Linked DNA regions of Homo sapiens: all the other regions are linked to region 1. The links are contacts of gene promoters, found by promoter capture Hi-C in human tissues and cell types (Jung and others, 2019). All regions are on one chromosome and are shown on one strand. The core of a region is centred on a gene start or on the middle of the fragment in contact, and the rest is flanking DNA. Distances in the headings are between cores, read along the strand shown. Region 1 holds the start of ATP9A (ATPase phospholipid transporting 9A (putative)). Region 2 has its middle 150 kb from the start of LINC01429. Region 3 has its middle 86 kb from the start of LINC01429.

Evidence for each region. The method cuts DNA at HindIII sites, captures the fragments that hold promoters and counts their contacts. A contact is called where the count stands out against the background at its distance.
Region 2: a contact is called between a fragment that was not itself captured here and the fragment with the promoter of ATP9A in region 1, in 1 of the 25 tissues and cell types used here (spleen).
Region 3: a fragment that was not itself captured here is called in contact with the fragment with the promoter of ATP9A in region 1 in 1 of the 25 tissues and cell types used here (stomach).

What each region holds. Positions count from the first base shown.
Region 1 is chr20:51,766,337-51,770,151 of GRCh38, reverse strand. ATP9A (ATPase phospholipid transporting 9A (putative)) reads left to right here and starts at 1,762. Exons shown (of 28, transcript NM_006045.3): 1 at 1,762-1,850. The coding sequence starts at 1,783. The HindIII fragment of the contact is 32,964 bases long and covers 1-3,815 here.
Region 2 is chr20:52,007,161-52,010,975 of GRCh38, reverse strand. No RefSeq gene overlaps it. Among named protein-coding and RNA genes, the nearest start is that of LINC01429, 150 kb to the right of the region's middle. The HindIII fragment of the contact is 6,604 bases long and covers 1-3,815 here.
Region 3 is chr20:51,946,671-51,950,485 of GRCh38, reverse strand. No RefSeq gene overlaps it. Among named protein-coding and RNA genes, the nearest start is that of LINC01429, 86 kb to the right of the region's middle. The HindIII fragment of the contact is 4,362 bases long and covers 1-3,815 here.

The sequences.
Region 1 (3,815 bases), core at 513-3,012:
TCTTGGTTTGAGATCCACCTCAGACACTGGGATATTTGGTGGCTCCATCCTGTGTGACAGCAAACACAAAAGGCATCCACTTGCTGGCAGTTAGCACTAACTTAAAAAAACAAACAAATAAAACAAAATAAAAGGGCCAAGCGCAGTGGCCCGTGGGAGCAGGGAAAGGCTTCTGGTGAGAGTTGGAAAGGTGGACTGGGCCGGATGCTCTTCCTTCATCCCAATTAAATCTCTATGGCATTTAGCAAATGCCAAGGAAGAGCCCAGCACTTTGGGAGGCCGAGGTGGACAGATCACATGAGGCCAGGAGTTCAAGACCAGTCTGGCCAACATGGTGAAACCCCATCTCTACTAAAACTACAAAAATTAGCCAGGCACATGTATAACCCCAGCTACCCGGGTAGCTGAGGCAGGAGAATTGCTTCAACCTGGGAGGCAGAGATTGCAGTGAGCTGAGATTTTGCCACTGCACTCCAGCCTGGGCGACAGAGGGAGATTCTGTTTCAAAAAGAAAAAAAAGAAACGGCGTCCAACATGATCAGTCATTAGATGTAACTATGTAAAAGTCAGCTTTAGATTAGTTTATATGGTATTATTACAATTTCAGGCTCTTTAGTTACATATTGATTTTTAAACTCCCTCACTTTGTTCCTTCCCTCTGTTTTTTTTTTCCTGCTCTCATAACTTTATCAGGCCTTTGAAAAGTTCATGGGTCCCAGACACTGTGTGGGAGGGTGTGGAAGTGAGTGTGGATGTGGGCTGCGGTGGAGATAGGTGTGTGTGTGAGACCGTGAATCACAGTGACAGGTAATGCAGGGTGACTGTCTGAGGCCTGAGAGTGGGGCCCATGTGCAAGCCCAAGAAAGTGGCTGGTGTGAGAATGAGGGTGTTCAGACTATTGAAGGGTGTTTGGATGAAAGAGGCAGGTGCGTGTGTGTCATGGTGAGTTCCCAGAATCCAGATAGAGAATGAGGGTGAGGATGGTGAAGGTCAGAGGGTGAAGGAGTCTGATAAGCTGAGGGTCCCTGTGTGACTGTGATTTCTGCAGGCACATGGGTGTGAGGCTTGAGAAACTGGGTGCATGGATGATGGTGACCAACAGGAGGGTGAGAGTGTTATGTGTGTGTGCAGGACTCACATGTGATTGTGAATGTTAGATGTTGCAGGCAGTGAGCAGTGGCAGGTGTGTGTGTAGGGCCTGGGCGTGAATATGCACGTTGGTGCAAGAGTGAGTGAGAATGACTGACTGATGGGGTGAGCGTGGCCGGGTGCCCGTGTGATTGTGCATGTCAGATATTGGTGGGGATGAGTGTCACAGCGCGCGTGTATAGGGCTGGGATGTGATTGTGAATGTGGGATTTTGCGGGGGGTGCGGTGGCAGGGTGCGCGCACGGCGGGCGTGGGCGGGGGGCGCGTGGCCGGGTGGGCGCGCGTGGGGGGCGCGGGCGCGGGCCGGGGGCGGGGACACTGCAGCGGTCGCGGCGGCGCGGACACGGCCCGGCCGCCCCCCGTGGCAGGCGCGGCGCGGCGCGGAGCGAGCGGGCGCAGCGCGGAGCTCGGGCCCATGGTGCGCCCGTGTCCGTCGGTCGGGCCGCGCGGGCGCTCCGCGCGTGGCCCGGCGCTCGCGAGCTCGCCCCCTCGCTGCGGGCCCGGCCCGCCCGCTGCCGCCGCCTCCTCCCCCGGGGCGGCGCGGCGCCGGCGGGCGGCGGCGCGGAGGCCGGACCGGGCGGCGGCCCAGGCGGCGCGGGGGGCGCGGCGGCCAAGGCGGGCGGCGCCGCCGACATGACGGACAACATCCCGCTGCAGCCGGTGCGCCAGAAGAAGCGGATGGACAGCAGGCCCCGCGCCGGGTGAGTGGGCCTGGGCCCGTGTTTTCCTTTGTCCGCGCCTCCCGGAGCCCGGCGCTCGGGCCAGCCTGGCCGGGCCTGACAGGTTGGCCGCGCGCCGCGCCCGGCGCCATGAGCCTGGGGCAGGGCTGGGGAGGCGGGGAGGTGGGGAGGGGGTCCCTGCGCTTCAGCCCCGGGCGGCACCTAGCCTGATGCCGGCCCTTTGGGGTTCGAGCGCCCGGTTGCCTGGGCCTCCTTGCCCACCTTCCTTTAGAAACCCCGAGAAGCCGGGCCCGCCCCAGTGCTGTTTACACACTCGCGGAATTCGGATCAGCCGTGCTTTCTCACCGTTTTATTGTTCCGTAATTAATATCTGTCCGTAATTAATATCTGAGGTAACAATTTGGTCAGTGTCACACCGAGCTCTGCGCTTGGAGCATTACTCGGGAGCCCAGATATGCTCAGCTTTTAGGGGGGCGCGGCCTACGCCTCGGGGTACCCCATCAGCGCCCCTGGGTCCCAGCCCCAGGAGGCTGCGCCGAGACCACCTGCGCTCCGGTGGCCCCTTCCCCCTCCGCCCGGGGTGGACCCGAACCAGCAGTCGCAGGAGGGTGGGAGGGTCTCCTACTGGCCGCTTGGTGACACTACCCCTTGTGTTCTCCCCCCACAATTTCGGGGAAGGAATCCCACGGCTGGGACAGGGGCTGCCACCTGCTGTGCCCTTCCCGCAGTAGGAGACCCCGAGGGCAGCTTAGGCGCGGAACAGGCAAGGGTTTTTCTGCATTTGGGAAGAGGGGACGGGTTGGTATTTTGCGCCTCGCCGTCTTCCTGTTCGGAGGATGGCAGCGTGACGCGTTGAGGTTTGCGGGGCTCTCGTATCGCCTGCCATAGACTTACCTGGGCGTGAGGGGCGGGGGTGGGAAGGACGGGGGTGGGCGCTGGTGCAAATGCAGATTTCCCGGCCCCCGCCTAGACCCGCCAATCAGAGTTCTGGGGGGCGGGGCCTGGAGATGTGCAGCTCCACAGGCCGCGCAGGTGAGGCTGGAGCCCGCGGGAGGCTGAGCGCGGTGTTGGGCGGGGCCTGCGGCCGCTCTGCTCCGCCCTTCCTCGGGCGTCTGGTCCTCTCTGGGCATTTCCCGGTGGCGGCCGCTTATTGCAGCGTCAGTTGCTCGGAACAGGAGACGCGGCGGGTGGAGTGAACCATAAGGGTGGCTTCACCAGGTGTCAGTGGAATTAAAAAAAAAAAAAAAAAGAATGGTGCTGGCGGCCATTTTGTGGGGTCTTTGTCCCTGGCTTCCTGAATCCTCCGAAGAAGAGGCCTCACTGATATTACCCAGAGGAGGAAACTGGAGGTTACGGAGGTTAAGGGCTATAGGGAAGACTGCAAAATGGAGATTGAACTCCGGATTGTCTGACCCAAAGATAGTTCCCTCACTCCTCCCTTCTCTGTTTTGCGTTTATTATTATTAGTATTATTATTATTATTGAGACGGAGTCTCCCTCTGTTGCCCACGCTGGAGTGCTGTGGCGAGATCTCGGCTCACTGCAACCTCCGCCTCCCGGGTTCAAGCAATTCTCTGCCTCAACCTCCCGAGTAGCTGGGATTACAGGCGCCCGACACCACGCCTGACTAGTTTTTGTATTTTTAGTAGAGACGGGGGTTTCACCATCTTGGCCAGGCTTGTCTTGAACTCCTGACCTCGTGATCCACCCACCTCGGCCTTCCAAAGTGCTGGGATTACAGGCGTGAGTCACCGCGCCCGGCCTCCTTCGTTTTAATGATGACAATTGACTTGAACACTATGCCTGGAACAGTGCCTGGTACATCGTACATCCTCCGTAAATACTGTGATGAATTAATATGATCAGTGGAGTCTAAAATCCAGTGGTTATTAATTTGTGCCATGAGCAATTATGAGACGCCTACTATGTGCAGGAGCCACTCCAGCTGATGGGGATGCAAGGATGAATTAAAGAAGACCTGCCCAA
Region 2 (3,815 bases), core at 565-3,064, 240 kb before region 1:
CGGTTTGACATTTGATTCCCTGAAAAACATCTTATCAGATCAACAATGATTGCCGTCCAAAAAAGAAAAATCCCCTGCCTTTCCTCCATAGGAGGGATGTCAGTCACTGTGCAGAGATTCTAAAGCTCCGAGGCCATGACCAGCAGAGGAGTCATGGCGCGTCTGAAGGGATAAGGGCAGATAAAGTGTATCAAAGGGGGCCTTGACACATGGGATGCTACGCAGGCCTTCTCCAGAGCTTCTCTGGCCTAACTGACAGGGGATTAATCCACGGGAGGGCGATAAACAACGGCTCAAGTGGGATTGAGGCCCAACACCTGGATACGAGGTTGGATCCAGTCTGGGAGGCTCACCATGCTGCGAAGGAACACAATCTCTCCCAACACACTTCTTAACCGCCCCTTCTGCTGCTTGCAGGGCCTCTAGCTTGACACTCTTCCCCTTGAATAACAAGTTTGAAAAATAGGTTGGGATTTTGTTTGTTTGTTTGTGTTCTGTGCTTGTGAGCCAGAGAAACTGAAGAGTTTAGAAATTCAACAGTTGCCTGCTGAGAGTTCTTATAGAAAAGGGTTTCATTTGACAACCAAATGCAGTGGGGCAGATCTTGCTTGGATCCTGATTCCATCAAATCCAGGGTAAAGCAGGCATTTTTGAGATGCTGAGGACCTTTGGGTAGTAGATGATATCAAGGAAACATTGTTTGTTTTGTTGGACAAGATAATGGCATTGTGTGGGAGTTTTCTTTAATAAACTTTAAAAACATTGATGAATACTAAGTGTATAGGGTAAAATGACACGAAGTCAAGGATGCTTTTTTTTTTTTTTTTTTTTTTTGAGACGGAGTTTCACTCTTGTTCCCCAGACTGGAGTGCAGTGGTGCAATCTCGGGTCACTGCAACCTCCGCCTTCCGGGTTCAAGTGATTCTCCTACCTCAGTCTCCCGAGTAGCTGGGGTTACAGGCATCTGCCACCAGGCCTGGCTAAATTTTTTGTATTTTTAGTAGAGACAGGGTTTCACCATGTTGGCCAGGCTGGTCTTGAACTCCTGACCTCAGGTGATCCACCCGCCTCAGCCTCCCAAAGTGCTGGGATTACAGGCATGAGCCACCACACCCAGCCCAATGATGCATTTTTAAAAAACTTTTTAAATTATATGATACACTTTTTAAAAACTTTTAAAATAATAATTGAGCACATTTATGCGGTACATAGTGATGTTGTGATACATATAATGTATAGTGATCAGATCAGGGTAGTTAGTCATGTCCATCATCTTTGTATCATTCTTTGCACTGGGAATATTCAGTATCTTCCTTCTAACTATTTGAAACCATATAACATGTTTTGATTAACTATAGTCATCCTACAGTGTGATATGCTTTAAAATATAAAGGTGGGGTAAGGAGAGGAGACTCTCTGAAGTAAGTGTTGCAAAATCTTAATTACTGAATCTGGATAATGGCCTATGAGGGTCCGTAGTACTATTCACTCTACTTTTAGGTGTGTTCGAATATTTTTGCCAAAACAATTATAATAATTGTAATAATAAGCTTTTTTAAATGTTCCAAAGAGGCCAGGTGCGTGGCTCACACCTGTAATCCCAGCACTCTGAGAAGCTGAGGCAAGTGGATCCCTTGAGCTCAGGAGTTCAAGACCAGCCTGGACAACGTGGCGAAACCCCATCTCTACAAAAACTACAAAAATTAGCCGGGTGTGGTGGTGTACACCTGTAGTCTCAAAAAAAAGAAAAGTTCCAGAAAGTGTCAGTGTTGGTGTGAAAATTCAGAGTTCTACATCAGTTGGTTCTGTGACCTGGCCATGCTTTGTAAGTGCACTAAATCATGAACACATTCTCTTTTTTTTGAGACAAGTTCTCGGTTTGTCGCCCAGGCTGGAGTGGAGTGATGCAATCACAGCTCATTGCAGCCTCAAACTTCCAGGCTCAAGCAATCCTTCCACCTCAGCCTTCTGAGTAGCTGGGACTACAGGTACACGCCACTATGCTTGGCTAATTTTTATTTTCTGTAGAGACAGGATCTCGCTATGTTGCCCGGGCTGGTATCAAACTCCTAGGTTCAAGTGATCCACCTGCCTAGGCCTCCCAAAGTGCTGGGATTACAGGTGTGAGCAACCACGCCCGGCCATGAACACAATCTTATCTGCATGGATGAGGCAGAGACGCCCTTCAGAAAGTGGTGGCCGGCACCGTCAGTGGCAAGCAGAAGCTGAGTAAACTGAGATGATGGTTTTCTTTTTTGGGTTGCACTGTCTCGTTAGCAACACCGCTGCCCCTGACTGAGTGCTTGCTCTCCACAGACGATCTCATTTAGTCCTTATGTGAGATCTATTTCATTGCCCCTCTTTTACAGATGAGGAAAGTGTGGTTCAGAGAGGTTAAGTAAATTTCTTAAGGCCACCCAGCTAATAAGTCATAGATCCAGAATTTGAACTTAAGGAAATCAAATTTTAGATCCTATGCACTGCTTGATAACCCCCTCCCCTTTTTTTTTCCTTTTCTTTTTGAGATGGAGTCTCACTCTGTTGCCCAGGCTGGAGTGCAGTGACATAATCTTGGCTCACTGCAACCTCCACCTCCTAGGTTCAAGCAATTCTCCTGCCTCAGCCTCCTGAGCAGCTGGGATTACAGACACCCGCCACCACACCTGGCTAATTTTTGTATTTTAGTAGAGATGGGATTTCACCATGTTGGCCAGGCTGGTCTTGAACTCCTGACCTCAGGCTATCCACCCATCTCGGCTTCCCAAAGTGCTGGGATTGCAGGCATGAGCCACTGTGTCCGGTCACCTTTTTTTTCAGATGAAGTCTTGCTCTGTCACCCAGGCTGGAGTGCAGTGGCGCGATCTCAGCTCACTGCAACCTCCACCTCCCAGGTTCAAGTGATTCTCATGCCTCAGCCTCCCATGTAGCTGGGACTACAGGCAGGCAACGCCATGCTCAGCTAATTTTTATATTTTTAGTAGAGATGGGGTTTCACCATGTTGTCCAGGCTGGTCTTCAACTCCTGACTCAAGTGATCGACCTGCCTCGGCCTCCCAAAGTGCTGGGATTACAGGCGTGAGTCACGGCGCCCAGCCTGATACCTGTTTTTTGTTTGTTTGTTTGTTTGTTTGTTTGTTTTTGTTTTTGAGACGGAGTCTCGCTCTGTCGCCCAGGCTGGAGTGCAGTGGTGCGATCTCGGCTCACTGCAAGCTCCGCCTCCCGGGTTCAGGCCATTCTCCTGCCTCAACCTCCCAAGTAGCTGGGACTACAGGCGCCCGCCACCAAGTCTGGCTAATTTTTTTGTACTTTTAGTAGAGACGGGGTTTCACCGTGTTAGCCAGGATGATCTCGATCTCTGACCTCAGGTGATCCACCTGCCTCAGCCTCCCAAAGTGCTGGGATTACAGGCATGAGCCACCGTGCCCGGCCCAGCCTGATACCTGTTTTTAACAAAGGAGAGGAGAAAAGAGGAGACAAGGACGATCCGCACAAGCCTTGCTTGCCTGCCCTTACTTGGCATCAGAATCCTTGTTAGTTATTTTGCTCCAAATGACCCATTTGGATTTTTTTCAAAACTCACTCAGTGAAATCTTGCTCACAGATTCTGTTCTTTATCTAAAATTTTGGAATTTCGCTCATCTTGGACTTTTGTTGGGCACTGAGCAATTGTATGTATTACTGGTTAAATATCACAAATCCAAAATGCTCCAAAGGCTGAAGCTTTCTTGAACACCCACATGACACTCAAAGGAAATGCTCACTGGAGATTTCAGATTTCAGGTTTTCAAATTCAAGTATAATGGAAATATTCCAAA
Region 3 (3,815 bases), core at 754-3,253, 180 kb before region 1:
TCAAACTCATGGGCTCAAGCATTTTTCCCACCTCAGCCTCCCAAGTAGCTGGGACTACGGGTGCATACACCACCACGCCTGGCTAATTTTTTGTAGAGACAGGGTCTCACTATGTTTCCCAGGCTTGTCTCACACTTCCGGCCTCAAGTGATCCTCCTGCTTTGGCCTCCCAAAATGCTGATATTACAGGCTTGAGCCACCATACCTGTCTACATGCTGAATTTTTTAATTTTTTAAGGCAACAGAAGAGTTTATAAGAGATAAGAAACAGAGACCAGGCATTGTGGCTCACGCCTGTAATCCCAGCACTTTGGGAGGCTGAGGCAGGCAGATCACCTGAGGTCAGGAGTTTGTGACCAGCCTGGCCAATATGGTGAAACCCCGTCTCACTAAAAATACAAAAATTAGGCAGGTGGGGTGGTGGGTGCCTGTAATCCCAGCCACTTGGGAGGCTGAGGCAAGAGAATCGCTTAAACCCGGGAGGCGGAGTTTGCAGTGAGCTGAGATCACACCACTGCACTCCAGCTTGGGTGACAGGGCGAGACTCCGTCTCAAAAAAAAAAAAAAAAAAAAAAGAGAAACAAGAAACAGAATAACACAATGTTTAGGAAAGAAGCTTCCAAAATAGTCTACATCTAAACACCAGCTTTAAGACTTCCTGGATTAGCTGCTTTTCCTTTCTGAACCTCAGTTTGTTCATCTGTAGAATGGACACAATCATCATGTCCACCTCATAGGGTCATAGTGGGGATGAAATATTAAGCATTCAATAAATGGTGGCTGCTGGTATGCTTACTGTTATAATTATCATCATTATTTTTACTCAAGTTTTATCTTTGTTTTGGATAAAATATATCTGATGGGTTCTCTGATGTGGAAACAGGCTCAGAATCCTGAAATGAGGAAAGCATTATTCCACAACCTCCCAGGGCAGCAGAAATCCTCATCTTTTCCTCTAAAAATATGAGTGTGTACAATGTGTCACATGTTAACAGGCTCCGGGGTTTTGAGCTGTGGTGTCTACCTCCACGTTTCCTAAGAGGTCAAATGACCTCCAGGTTTCATTTAAGTTTTCTATTATTCTCTTCTGAAAGGGACAACGGAGCTCTTGTTTGAACGGCTTTGGTGAGCCCAAAGGAAAATGTGGTCATTATAGACAGCACAAAAGATTCGCTTTCCATACATTAGTTTGTCAATTGCTTTCTTAATGCAAGGTTGGGTAGGGAAATAGACAGTGGGGGAGGAAAAAAAAAGATTATTTTGTGTCCACAGATAGATGTCAATATTTGACAGCAATAAATGAAATTTCATATCACATCTTTGCAAACATAAAAATCGTACAATAAGAAGTCCTGTTAAGTTTTCACTTTCTCTCTTTTCCACTGGTCTTCAACCATCACTGTGCTATGTGATGTTTATTAGATCAATAGAAAGAAGTGAGGGAGCAACACAAAGAATTGGTTTTGTTGAAATTTTAGTTGCTTCTGTCCCCTCAAAATAAAACATATGCGGCCGGGCACGGTGACTCACGCCTGTAATCCCAGCAGTTTGGGAGGCCAAGGCGGGCGGATCACCTGAGGTCAGGAGTTCCAGGCCAGCCTGGCCAACATGGTGAAACCCCATCTCTACTAAAAATACAGAAATTAGCCAGGCTACTCAGGAGGCTGAGGTAGGAGAATGGCTTGAACTCGGGAGGCAGAGGTTGCAGTGAGCCGAGATCGCGCCAATCCACTCCAGCCTCAGCGACAGAGCAAGACTCCATCTCAAAAACAAAACAACAACAAAAAAAAACTGACTTTATGATCCAGCACGAAGTTGAATATAAAGTCAAGACTATCTTAACATGCTGAGCTACAATTTTTCTCGGGAAAATTAAACAACTCCCAAAACAAAAGAAAAAATAATATTTATTCATTCTTAAGGACATCCTCAGAACTAATGCAGAGGCTGTCATTATGACTTGCATTTGGTTAAAAACACAGCATAAAGTAAGCTTATTTTTGTAGCTTTGATTTTTTTTTTTTTTCCAAGGAGATTCATTCTATCGCCCAGGCTGGAGTGCAGTGGTGTGATCTTGGTTCACTGCAACCTCTGCCTCCTGGGTTCAAGCGATTCTCTTGCCTCAGTCTCCCGAGTAGCTGGGATTACAGGCACCCGCCACCATGCCTGGCTAATTTTTGTATTTTTAGTAGAAACGGTGTTTTACCATGTTGGCCAGGCTGGTCTTGAACTCCTGACCTCAGGTGATTGATCCAGTCACCTAGGCCTCCCAAAGTGCTGGGATTACAGGCATGCGCCACCGCACCCAGACAGTTGTTTTATCTTTTGGTACTATAAATAATGCTGCATTGATGAACACTTTTCATATAAGACATTAGATATTTGTACATGTATAAGTATGTCTGCACAATAAATTCTTGGAAATACAGTTACTGGTTTAAAGGACATATATGTGTTTGTAATTTTGATAGATATGAAAATGACTGTGTTACCACATCCTTGCCCACATAGTATGTTATCAAAGTTTTTGATCATTTGTCATTTAGTAGGTGAACAAAACCAGTATCTCCCTATAATCTATTTTGCATACCTCTTATTATAAGGAAGGTTAATCACTTCCCACATGTTTAAAAGCCACTGGTATTCCCTTTTCTGTGAACTATCATATATATCCTTGTTTCAGTTTTTCTGGCAGACTCTTGGCCTTTTTCTGATTGATTTTTAGAAACTCTTTATATATAGGGAAATTAATACTTAGTAATATAAGCTGCAATTATTTTTTTCCAAGTGTCTTGTCTTTTCACTTTACTTATTATAGTTTTTGCCATGCAAGTGTTTTAATTTTATAGCTTCTGATTTATGTGTCTTAGTAAAAACGATCTCCCCCTCTTCAAGATTATTTTAACATTCTGATAGCTTCTTCTAGTGCTTTTATAATTTGTTTGTTTGCAATGAAATTTTTTATCCTTTTGAAATTCATCCTTGGGTATGCTTTGAAATGTAGCTCTAAGTTTATAGTTTTTCTAGACAGCCACTAAGTTATCCCAATACCATTTATGGTATAATTCATCTTTCCCCCTTACTCACTTTTGTTTGTTTGTTTTAGAGACAGAGTCTAGCTTTTTCGCCCAGGCTGGAGTGCAATGGCGTGATCTCAGCTCACTGCAAACTCTGCCTCCCAGGTTCAAGCGATTCTGCTGCCTCAGCCTCCTGAGTAGCTGGGATTACAGGTGCCTGCTGGCACACCCGGCTAATTTTTGTATTTTTAGTAGAGACAGGGTTTCACTATATTGGTCTGGCTGGTCTTGAACTCCTGACCTCAAGTGATCCACCCGCCTCGGCCTCCCAAAGTGCTGGAATTACAGGCGTCAGCCACCGTGCCCGGCCACCCCCTACTCATTTTAAAAGGCAATTTTTATCACATGCTAAATGCCCAAATATAATTGGCTTCACTATATATAATTTTAAAATTGTTATCTTATAAATTAATATGGCCACACAGAAGTATATGTATGTGTACACTTTGATGTTCAGCTCACTAGTGTAAGATTGCCAAAGGAAACTACTAACTACTAACCAAATCAGAATACACTGGAATAAAATGTCTTTTATATTAATGTTAGATATGTAAGCATGTACACACACACACACACACACACACACACACACCCATGTTCCCTTGGATGTGAGCCCACCAGGGCAATCTCAATTTCTTGCCAAGTTGTGAGTTAGGAATAGGTATGTGATGCAACTTTGACCAACAAGATATGAGGGAGAGTGGTTGAGAGGCCTTCAGGGAAGGTTTTCTTCACCCT